3 separate regions of the Homo sapiens genome follow, and regions 2 and 3 are each linked to region 1. Evidence: promoter capture Hi-C in 16 types of primary human blood cells and fetal thymus (Javierre and others, 2016). All regions are on one chromosome and are shown on one strand. Each heading gives the region's core, a stretch centred on a gene start or on the middle of the fragment in contact. The rest is flanking DNA. Distances are from core to core; before and after follow the strand shown.

Evidence for each region. The method cuts DNA at HindIII sites, captures the fragments that hold promoters and counts their contacts. A CHiCAGO score of 5 or more calls a contact.
Region 2: a contact is called between the fragment with the promoter of APOL1 here and the fragment with the promoter of RBFOX2 in region 1, in 2 of 17 cell types (non-activated CD4 T cells and total CD4 T cells). The highest score is 5.6, in non-activated CD4 T cells.
Region 3: a fragment that was not itself captured here is called in contact with the fragment with the promoter of RBFOX2 in region 1 in 1 of 17 cell types (endothelial precursors); the score reaches 5.2 in endothelial precursors.

Annotation. Positions count from the first base shown.
Region 1 is chr22:36,026,857-36,030,354 of GRCh38, reverse strand. It overlaps RBFOX2 (RNA binding fox-1 homolog 2), which reads left to right and starts at 1,531. Exons shown (of 14, transcript NM_001349999.2): 1 at 1,531-2,115. The coding sequence starts at 1,930. RefSeq lists a silencer at 1,296-1,365. The HindIII fragment of the contact is 7,441 bases long and covers 1-3,498 here.
Region 2 is chr22:36,251,208-36,254,705 of GRCh38, reverse strand. APOL1 (apolipoprotein L1) reads right to left here and starts at 1,573. Exons shown (of 6, transcript NM_003661.4): 1 at 1,487-1,573. RefSeq lists an enhancer at 1,461-1,520. The HindIII fragment of the contact is 9,856 bases long and covers 1-3,143 here.
Region 3 is chr22:35,834,602-35,838,099 of GRCh38, reverse strand. All of the region lies in intron 2 of RBFOX2 (RNA binding fox-1 homolog 2), which reads left to right. Among named protein-coding and RNA genes, the nearest start is that of APOL5, 120 kb to the right of the region's middle. The HindIII fragment of the contact is 1,815 bases long and covers 663-2,477 here.

The DNA of each region.
Region 1 (3,498 bases), core at 282-2,781:
TTCAGTCGGCCAGGCGCGGCAGCTAACTCCTGTAATCTCAGCACTTTGGGAGGCCGAGGCAGGCGGATCACCTGAAGTCAGGAGTTCGAGACCAGCCTGGCCAACATGGTGAAACCCCATCTCTACTAAAAATACAAAAATTAGTTGGTGGCGCACACCTGTAGTCCCAGCTACTGGGGAGGCTGAGGCAGGAGAATCGCTTGAACCCAGGAGGCAGAGGTTGCAGTCAGCCGAGATCGCGCCACTGCACTTAAGCCTGGGCGACAGAGCGAGACTCTGTCTCAAAAAAAAAAAAAAAAAAAAAAAAAAAAATGCCTTCAGTCACTGACAAATGTGGGAGTGGAGGTGGTGGAATGGCAAAATTTCTCCTTGGTTGAAAGCCACTGATCCAAACCATCTCATTTTACAAATGATGGAGCTGAGGTCCAAAGAGATGAAGTAACTTGTTTAAGCTAGTTAGCAAAGCCAAGATTAGAATCCAGGTTATTCACGCAATATCCTTTTATTTCTATAACGTACAGGGCACGATATGGAACTCAGAGGAAGTCACTGCAGTCCTTGTCCTCACAGTCTGGTAGGGGAGAGAATCTATTGCACAGATATCTCTATCTCCACGAAGTTGGTAAGTCATAAAGTGCTCCTCAGGCAGCAAGGTACGAAGAAAGAGAATATGTTCTCGTGTTCTGAATTCCGGATCTGCCACTTTTTTGCTGCAGGATTTAACTAAGGTTCAGTTTCATCATCAATGAAATGGAGATCATGGTATCTACTTATATCACCAGTTTGAAACGGGTCTGTGGATGCATTGTGCAAACTCTAAAGCTCTTACAAACATCGGGTATTATTACTAACTTCATTAGGAATGTGAGTTATATTAGAGTAAAAGCTCTCAGAACTGGGGTGAACCATAGAGGGGTGGCTTCATTCCTCGACCTTCCAATTTGAGACATTTTTTCTTCTGCGGGAGGGGAAGCAGGCAAATAGCCTGCCTCTCACAGAGTGCCCATTCCCTCTCCGGGAACCAAGGTGCTCAGGCGAGTAAACTCAGGACTTAACTCTGTACAACTAGTACCGCAAGCAGGAGCCACTCCCTGGCCTTCGGGTCTCTCAAGCCCCGCCTGCTCCAGGATACGGCCCCGCCCAGAAAGGAGACAGACCCCGCCCCCCCCGCGCTGCCCCGCACTCCAGCCGCGCTGTGCCTCCAGGACAATCCCAGGCCCGTGCCGGAGATTCCCGAGCTTCCCCGATCGCTTCCCGGCCTCCCTCGGGCAGCCAGCGAGGAGACTACGGAGATTGCCGAGGGGGCCTGGCCCCGCCCCCCCCGCGGGCCGCCACCGCCCCCCTCGCCGTAGCCTCCCGCGCGGGCTGGAGTTCTACATCCCGGTCCCTCCCTCCCTCCCTCTTTCTCTCTCCCCGCCTTCCCGGTGCTGCCACAGTGGCGGGTCGGAGGATCCCGGCCAGTCAGCTCGTTCCTGCCTCGCGCCCCTCCTCCCCCCAAAATAAACAGCCCTCCCCACGCCTCGGGAGCCCGGACCGCCCCCTTCCTCCCTCGGCCGGCGTGCTGTGAGGGAGAGTGTGAGCCAGCGCGGCCGGTGGGCGAGCTCCGGGAGTGCGAGAGGCGGGGCGGCGCGGCGGGCCGGGCCGGGTTTCGCGTGTGCGTGCGGGGGCGCGAGCGAGTGCTCATCACGACCCGCCAGTGGCCCCGCGCCGACAACCCGGCGGGCGGGCGGGCGGGGAGCAAGCGGTCAGGCAAGGAGCGGCGGCCGCGAGGCGCGGAGGGGCGCGGAGTCCGCTCGCGCGCACGCACGCACGCACGCGGGGGCGGGGGCAGGCGCGCGCCCGCCTGTCGCGACAGTCGGGGCCGAGGCCCAGGGGGAGGTGGCCTGTCGCGGGTCGCCCGGCTCCCGGAGGCGAGGGGGGCGCGGGCGGATGGCGGAGGGCGCCCAGCCGCATCAGCCGCCTCAGCTCGGGCCCGGCGCCGCCGCCCGGGGCATGAAGCGGGAGTCGGAGCTGGAGCTGCCGGTGCCCGGAGCGGGAGGAGACGGAGCCGATCCCGGCCTGAGCAAGCGGCCGCGCACTGAGGAGGCGGCGGCCGACGGTGGCGGCGGGATGCAGGTGACCGCGCGGGACGGGGCGCCCAGTTATTGCGGGGGTGGGCGTGAGGGTCGACACCGGGCTCCCCGGCTTGGAGAGAGGGAGGGCCTCCGGGAGTCCTGGGTTGGAGGTGGGATGGGGGGCCATTCGGGGCCTGGTTGGAAGGTGGGGCGAGCTCGGGCTAGGAACGAAGGTTGCAGGACTGAACCTGGTGTGCCCGAGAGGGTCCTGATTCCTGAGGGGCCAGGAGGCACGACGAGTGGATAGGTTTTGGGGGGAAATCGAACAAGGTTGAGATGGATTCCATTTTTTCAAATCCTTCCTTAGTGCCTTGGGGTGGAGTGGAAGCCGGGAAATCCTGGCTTCTCTGGACTGAGTCGAGGAAAAGGAGATCTGGTGGGAAACCTCCCGAGAAGAGGGAGTACCTTTTGGCAGCCCTGGGCACACGCTGGGATGGGGAAGAGAAGTGGCATTTCAATGAGAGGAGTGAAAAGAAAACTCCTCGAGAGAGCCCCGAGGGGATGTGGCTGAGATTGTGGGTTAAATCACACAGAGTGTGAGAAGTACAAGGAGTTTGGTAATGTTATGGGGACACGGTGGTGCTCAGTCTCATTTACTTTGTGGAGCATACTAATGAGTCTGAAGGGAGACACTAGACATGTCCCTCCTGTTCTTTGCCAATTGCATTCTACATCACCAGGACACAAAATAGCTCTTTAATGTCCCGGGCTATAAAAAAAATTTTTTTATAGGGCTATTAGAAGACTGGATTCTCAATTCTGGATTGAAAGATAAACGTGGTTAATTTGGGTAGGGAATGGGAAAGGTATTGATGTCAGCTGACTTCATAGTTTTGAAGAAGACCTTGAAACCTTTGGAGGTTTTACGATTTGGTCTTTGCCCAGAAAATACTGCTATGACATGATGAGTCTCACCTACCAACAGTTGTGCAGACTTGTGCCTAATTCTCTCGGAGTCATAGGATGTTAGAGGGATGCTAGGAGGACTAGACATCATCTTTTCCAGGGGTTCTTAACCTGGGAAGACTTGGAAGATTCTTACTCATAGTAGGTGATGTGCACTTTTTGGTGGAGGAGAGTCAATAGTTTTCATCTTTGTTTTTTTTGGAGGAGATTCAAGTCCCAGCTTGTTTTAACCACCTTATTTTATAGATGGGGAATCAGAAGTCCAGAGAAGATGGTGACTTGGGTAAGGCCACCCAGTTAGCTAATAGTAAAACTAGAACTAGAAGCCTGGTCTTCTAATTCCTATTCCTGTGCTGTCTCCATTACACCACTCTTGGAAATCTCTGCAGTGCTAAAAGACTTCCTGTGCTCTGCTCCCTGCTTTTCAAGCCTCTGCCTGACTTCCTGTGTTAGGGACAGAGCTGTACTTAAGCCTAGC
Region 2 (3,498 bases), core at 324-2,823, 220 kb before region 1:
TATTTTTAGTAGAGACAGGGTTTCACCATGTTAGCCAGGATGGTCTCGATATCCTGACCTCGTGACCACCTGTCTTGGCCTCCCAAAGTGCTGGGATTACAGGCGTGAGCCACCGCGCCCGGCCTTTCGTTTAGTTTTTAATAAACAGTTTTGCTCTGTCACCCAGGCTGCAGGGCTTTGACACCATCCTAGCTCATTGCAGCCTAGATCTGTTGGGCTCAAGTGATCCGCCTCCTTCAACCTTCTGAGTAGCTGGGACTACAGGTACACACTACCATGCTGGGCTAATTTGTTAATTTTTGATTTCATAGAGACAGCATCTCCTGTGTTTCCCAGGCTGTCTTGAACTCCTGGCCTCAAGTCATCCTCCCGCCTCTGCCTCCCACAGCACTGGGGTTACAGGCTTCATCATCTCTTTTTGGTGAAGAACAAATAAGACCATGACTCAGATTTCACAGAAATTACCCCCCTGATTTCATGGACTTTTGGCAGCTCTATCAGGTTTTTTACAGGGGAAAATACTCAGGCTGGGAGGGGAGGTGAATTTCCCAGAGTCACACAGCTCTTGGAGGGCAGAGGGGAGGCCAACATCTGCCCTTGTGACTCTAATATTGAAGCAAAAATGTTTGATTTTAATAATCCAAAAGTTTCCAGGTTTGATTCTCCTTCTATGAACACAGAGATCTAAGCTCTCACTCCTGTAGTTATACTCACAATTCCACAGTGTGGCTTTTGAATCTCATGATTGCAAAGCTGGCATCATGCCACAGGCACCATTCTGCAACGCACCCTTCTCACTCCCCTGTCTCAGCCACGTTTCCCATTAGGGACACAGCACAGCCTGTTTCTTCTCCATCACCCCAGAAGTCTGAACAGAGGGACAGAGGTGAGGGCCAGAGACGTGGAGTCCTATGATCTACCTGCTCAGCCTCCTGACACGGGACCCTGGGCAAGTCATTCCGCTCCCAGGGCCTCAGTTTCCCCACAGGGCCTGGCACAAGTTGGTGCTCAGACTCAGGGTGGGTGAGATGACCTCTGAACTCCTTGTACCTGAAAAAAAATTCTGTTGCCCCCATTGGGCCTCAGCAGCAGCACCCTGGGGCCAGCCTTGGTGTGGCCTGGCCATAAGAACAGGCTGGGATCTGGGTCACCTCCTCTCCTCCACCTTCTTTGGTTCCTTCAAATTTCCCAAAGAGATGGGCACCCCCAACACAAACCTTCCTTCTGGGTTCACTCAGTCGTGTCTCAGCAGTCAAAACCAGGGCTGAGCCCAGGGAGCTTTGTGAACCCATCTGAGCTGTTTCCCCAACCCTCTATAGTTTAAGAGCCCAGCAGGAGAGGGGAAGCAATCAGACTCAAGCCTGGGTGCAAATCCAGGCTTTGCCGCTACTTTCCTGTCTATCTGAACCAGTCACCTAACCTCTCCCAGCTTATCTACAAAAGCTGTGAGAATAAGATGGAGGCAGGTCAACTGTCCCCAACTTACCAAGGAATCTTCCCCTGGCAGAGACTGAGCAAGATCCAGCTGTTCTGAGCTGTGTGGATCCCACCTCCAGTTATGCGTCTGTATAATAACCAGACAGGTCCTCCAGTCCCCAAGATATACCGAGGAATTCGAAAGGGAAAGTGAAAGTCACAACTTCCCAGCAGCTCATGACCAAGCACAGCAAACACGCTCCCCTCCACCTTCAGTCCAGCCCCACCCTCCTTGCTGCTGCCCTTAGAGGAGCAGCCTGAGACCAGACATCCAGATCCCTCTCATCCAACCCACCTGCCTCGCATCCTCAGGGCTGGGGGTCTGCTGTGGTCTCAAGGAGAAAGACCTGCCACTGACATACTATGGGACCCTGCAGATTACTCCCCATCCTCCCGTGCATCCACATTCCCCTGATGCCTGCCTTACTCCTGCCCGTGCCATCGGCATAAGCACAGTCTCCCACACATGCCTTGTGGATGCTTATTGTATATTTATTGTAATGCCGTTGGGGTTATTTTGGTTATGTTTTTGAGACAGGGTCTCAGTCTGTCACCAAGACTGAATTGCAGTGCCACAGTCATCGCGCACAGCAGCTTCAAACCCCTGGGCTTAAGCCATCCCCCCACCTCAGCCTCCTGAGTAGCTGGTTCTACAGGTATCAGCCAACCACCCAGCTAATTTTTAAAAAAATTATATTAGAGATGGTGCCTCACTATATTGACTGGGCTACTCTTGAACTCCAGGCCTCAAGTGATCCTCCCACCTTGGCATGAGCCACCGCACCAGGCCTGCTCTTGTTGAAGGCCATGCCTTGTGGCTTCTAGATATTTGCTTATATGGGGTCTTCTGCCGGGAGCACCTGCTTCCACCGCCTGGAAAAATCATGCTCATCGTTCAGTGACAAAATCAGGCATTGCCTCCTTTCAGAGATCCCCCAGCATCCTCCCCAGCAGAGGCCACTGCCCCGTGTTCCACTCCCGAGGCACACAGGGTGGAGGGACTAGAGACCACTGCTCAGCCACACTTCCATGACTAGGAAGTCATGCAACCAGATTGCTATTGGACTTTTGTGCTTTGCCCCAGGCAGAAGGGCCTCAAAGGCAGCTAAACCACAGAAGCCAACCTGACCCTTCCATGGGGGCCTATTTCATCCTGAGCAAACATCTCTGGGGGCATCGTGTCCACCTCACCCCACCCATACACACACACACACCAGCTTATGAGGCAGGAAGAGAATGGTGATTACACAGGGACTGCACAATACACTTTGCAATACATTCCATTTGCAAATGCTTCTCCATTTGATTGAGTTTTATAATCATCCCCTCAATGGGCCAGGATTATGATCTGATTTTGCAGATGAGGAAACTGAGGCAAGAAGAGAGGACGTTGCTTTCATCCAGCAACTCAGGGAGGAGGCAAGACTTGTAAACCAAAGAGGGTCTGGGACACGTCTCAGTCAGTTTAGATGTTTACTCTGCCAAGGTTGAGGATGCACCCAGGAAAAAGTCACACAAGTCACAGGAGGTTCTGGGGTCCACTCGTTTTTCACAGAGGGTTTTGAGGCCTCCAGTATTTAAATGTGTAAAATCAGGCAGGAGTGGAAGGAGGAAAGGAAAAAAGACAGGATAGGTAATGAGGTGAGTGGTCACATTCTTGTGAAGCTTTGATTAGCCCTCCTTGAATCCACAGGTTGTCTATGAAAGGAGGGGGTAGAGGAACAGTCAATTATTCATTCGTCTCATGCACAGTTCGTCTACATTTTATATAAGATAAAAATGAACATAGAGTAGAGGAAGCAGGCATATGTGCATTTTTCTGAGGGTGGGCAGAAGTCTTGTTATTTATCATGTACCAGTAAAGATAAGTTGCTAATTTGCATTGTCACAATGAAATTACACAAAGTCTGCCTCAGGGTAAAAACTGCTGGGACCCACAAGGAGTTTCCTTGTGAGCAATTTGTGAAGGAGGCTACCTGGGGAACATGTTGCCTTTTGTCTTCGCAAATATCTGCTTAGAAG
Region 3 (3,498 bases), core at 321-2,820, 190 kb after region 1:
CAATTACTGAAGGCTTTTCAATGACTTGACTTTTCATTATTTATTTTTTAAACTAGTGAAAGAATGATCTAAAATGGAAATTTTTATGATGAGTTTTCTATTGCCTCTTGGAACATTTCCCCTTAGTTTCTAGAGGAGCTGGTAAGTGTAGTGTGTGTGACCATTAAGTTAGAGTGCACATGCTTATGCACACTTAATATTGTGGTCGTAATAATTAGTATTTAAAGAAGCCATAAGTTTAGGAATGAAGTAGAAGAAATAAATGGAAACTGGAAAGAGAGATTCTGGGGTGCTTAATAATTCTAATAATAAAATCACCTGTTTTATCAGGATGTGCTAAATATTGAAGAAAAGTTATGAGTTTTTGCCCATCCTGAAATTATACAACTGGCAAGGATAGAATATCAAATTTGTGAATTTTCAGTATTCCAGCGTATTTGTTTTGTTGTATATACTTTCTGTGTTAATGTAATGTACATAGTTGTTAGTAATCTAGGGGGAAAACAATCAAAGGAAATAACCAGCTGGGCCAAGTCTTTCATTTGTCCTGTGGTTGTGTTGTGTTGTGCCTGCGTGTGTGTGTGTGTGTGCACATGTGTGTGTGTGTGTGTTTGAGCCAGACATCCAATCCCAACATTTGATAATGACCTGTCACATAAGCTTTCTCAATATAGAATGTCTATACTGGTGGTTAGGCCTGGGTTTTCAAAGTTAAACGGTTTATTACAATGTAAGAGCGATGTATGGATGTGTTTTCACTGTTTTGCTACTTAGGTTCTTTGCATCTTCAGATGATACCATCTCTGTAGTCCCCAGTTTCCATTGCTCAGCTGTTGGAAAAGGGCTTTCAGTGAATGACTTTTTCATCATACCATATTAGATCCTTGTCAGTATTTGCACAGTGTATGCGCTTTATTATTACATATGCTCTACTTTTATAGGGCCTGTTTTTGTTTTAATTATCAAACTACTCTGTCATTTATAGTAAGTAATCAGTGCTCTGCTAAAAAGCAAATGGCAATTTAATCACAAAATTCTAATATAGCCGATAGACATGCTTATGTGATACTTAAAACGTTAATTTTATCGGCTGTTCATGTGTATGTTGTAGGAGTATTTCACTGAGATCTCTTATTTTTTGGGCATATAGACCAGATTATTGCATCTCATATTTATGAAAATAGCAATATGGAATATGAAGGAAAGATAAATCATTCTTGTACTATGTGTAAAATTCGAAAAACAAAATTGCAAATGACTTCAACACTAATTAGTAAAAAATAAATGTTTAGCCAAACTCAAATTCAGTTATACTATCTATTGTTGAAAGGGAAAGTGTACTAGGCAGAGAGGAAAAGATTTTACAGTATGGATGTGAAAGAAAATTTTTGTACTCTACTATGGTATAAGACTGCCAGTTTCTGTGGAACACAAAGCCCTCCCTTTCTTGGACAGCTCAGTGCTTTGCTGGCATTTTCTTCAAAATCTGTTTTCCATCAGGACCAAGAGGAGGGAAGGTGTTAGGAATAAGGGAGGTTGGAAAGGGGGTTGCTGTTCCTTTAAATAGTGCAGTGAGTCCATGTGGCAGCAGGCCGCTCTGGAGTGTATTCTTTTGTAATGAATCACCAGTTCCATTGTCTGCTATCTCCCCTCTTTGTAGCTGGAAGGCTGAAGTCTTTCACCTGAGCTGCTGCCAGTTCGCTCTTCTGTTCCTGGGTGGTTGGGAGAAGAGAAGAGGGAGGGTATTTTATGCTTTAATTAAAGACAGATAAGAGAGCAGGTATGTTTTGCTTTGTTTCATTTTCTCTTTTCCTGTTTTTGTTTGTCTGGTTTTTGAAAGGAGTTGGAGTAGAGAATCTATTCTGTGATTTTGCTAAGCATATCCCATTTTCTTTGAATTCTGGAGGTCCTCTCAGCATTTAGTCTCCATTTTGTGGCACTGCTTTAAAGTGATTCCATTCGGTTGCCTGCCAGTCATGCTCCCTTGCCACTCGAACCTTATCCCACCCTTCATCCACGGAGCTGCAGCCACACTGTTTGTTTTGGCACACTTTCCACTTTCTATGGGCTTTGCAGGATTTGGGGAGTTGGAGGATAGGCGGGGATTGTGGGTTGGAGACTGAATTTATGTTCCTTTACAATGAAAAAAAAAAGCCTCACTTTTTCCAGAGATTTGGTTTCTTTCTGAATTCTTCTACATTGCTCCATATCTTCAGTTATAATCATTTCTTCGCTGAGGCCAAGATTGTCTCTTGAAAAGTATTGCTTTTCTAAAAATTACTTAGCTTTCTTGAAAAGATAAACAGAATTTCATAAATGAAGCTATGATGAAATCCGAGCAATCTTGACTCATTAAATTGTTTTTTCCGTCTTAGTCACCCCCTAATCACACACACTTTTCTCTTTCTTTTTTGGCCCCCTTCTCTATTTTTTCCTTTATCTTTCTCCTTAGCTTTGCAATTGAGTCTAGGTAAGCTTAATATTTGACAACCTATTACTTAAATTTGTATTGCTACAGGAGACATCTTCATATTGAACAGTAATGACATTCCTCATTCCTCTCAGTGATAAGGCATAAGCTCAAATTCCTGGTTTTGTTCCTCCAGTTTTCTGTTCTCCCCTGAGAAATTCCAAACTCTGATCTACACAGATTGCCATATGTAAACAATTTTATCTCTCTCAAATTTGAACTTTTCATCATGTAATTCCTTACCTAGGGGTTGTTTCTTGGACATCTGTTTATGGTAGACAGATAGTTTCTGGGAACCAGTCATACTAGGTGATACAGCCCCCCCTTACCCACCCTGGTCTCCTTCTGGTATACCATTCCTCTCCGGGATCTGACATTATTGGTATCCCACATGTTCCCTTCCGAAGTCATAATTCCTCACTCTTTTTTTTCAACATTTCCAAACCACTGTCAAATCTTTTTTGAACATTTCCTCCCAACATTTTGTATGTGAAATTTGCCAGGCACAAATACAAGGCTCCCCTGCAGTAAATACTTTGCTCTTTTGATTGTAGCACCTTTCTTAGTGGGCTCCAGTGTTCAACCTCTTCTAGGCAGTGAGAAATGCTGCATTCTGCCATCACAATGTATTGTGTCTATTCCCCAGACTCTTAAATGTTTCTCTATTACTATTAGAATGATTAAATTCAGGAAACTAATTCATTAGAGGTCATTGCCAGAGTGAATCATTTAAAATGCAAGTCTGATTTTGTCATTCCTGTGCTTATACCTTACAGTTGCTCCCCTTCAGTCTCTGAATAAAATCCTGTGACCCTGCATGATCAGGAACCTGGCTGTCTCTCTAGTCTCATCTCCTGCCATCCTTTTCTTTCTGTATTTCATTCTAATGACACTGGCCTCTTTGCTGTTCTCTTAACATGCCTAAGACCCTCCTGCTCAGGACCCTTCTGCTTTTCTCCCTGCCCAAAATGTCTTCCCACTGGTACCCATATGGTTTGTTCTACTCTTGAATATTTCTTCTCAAGGGC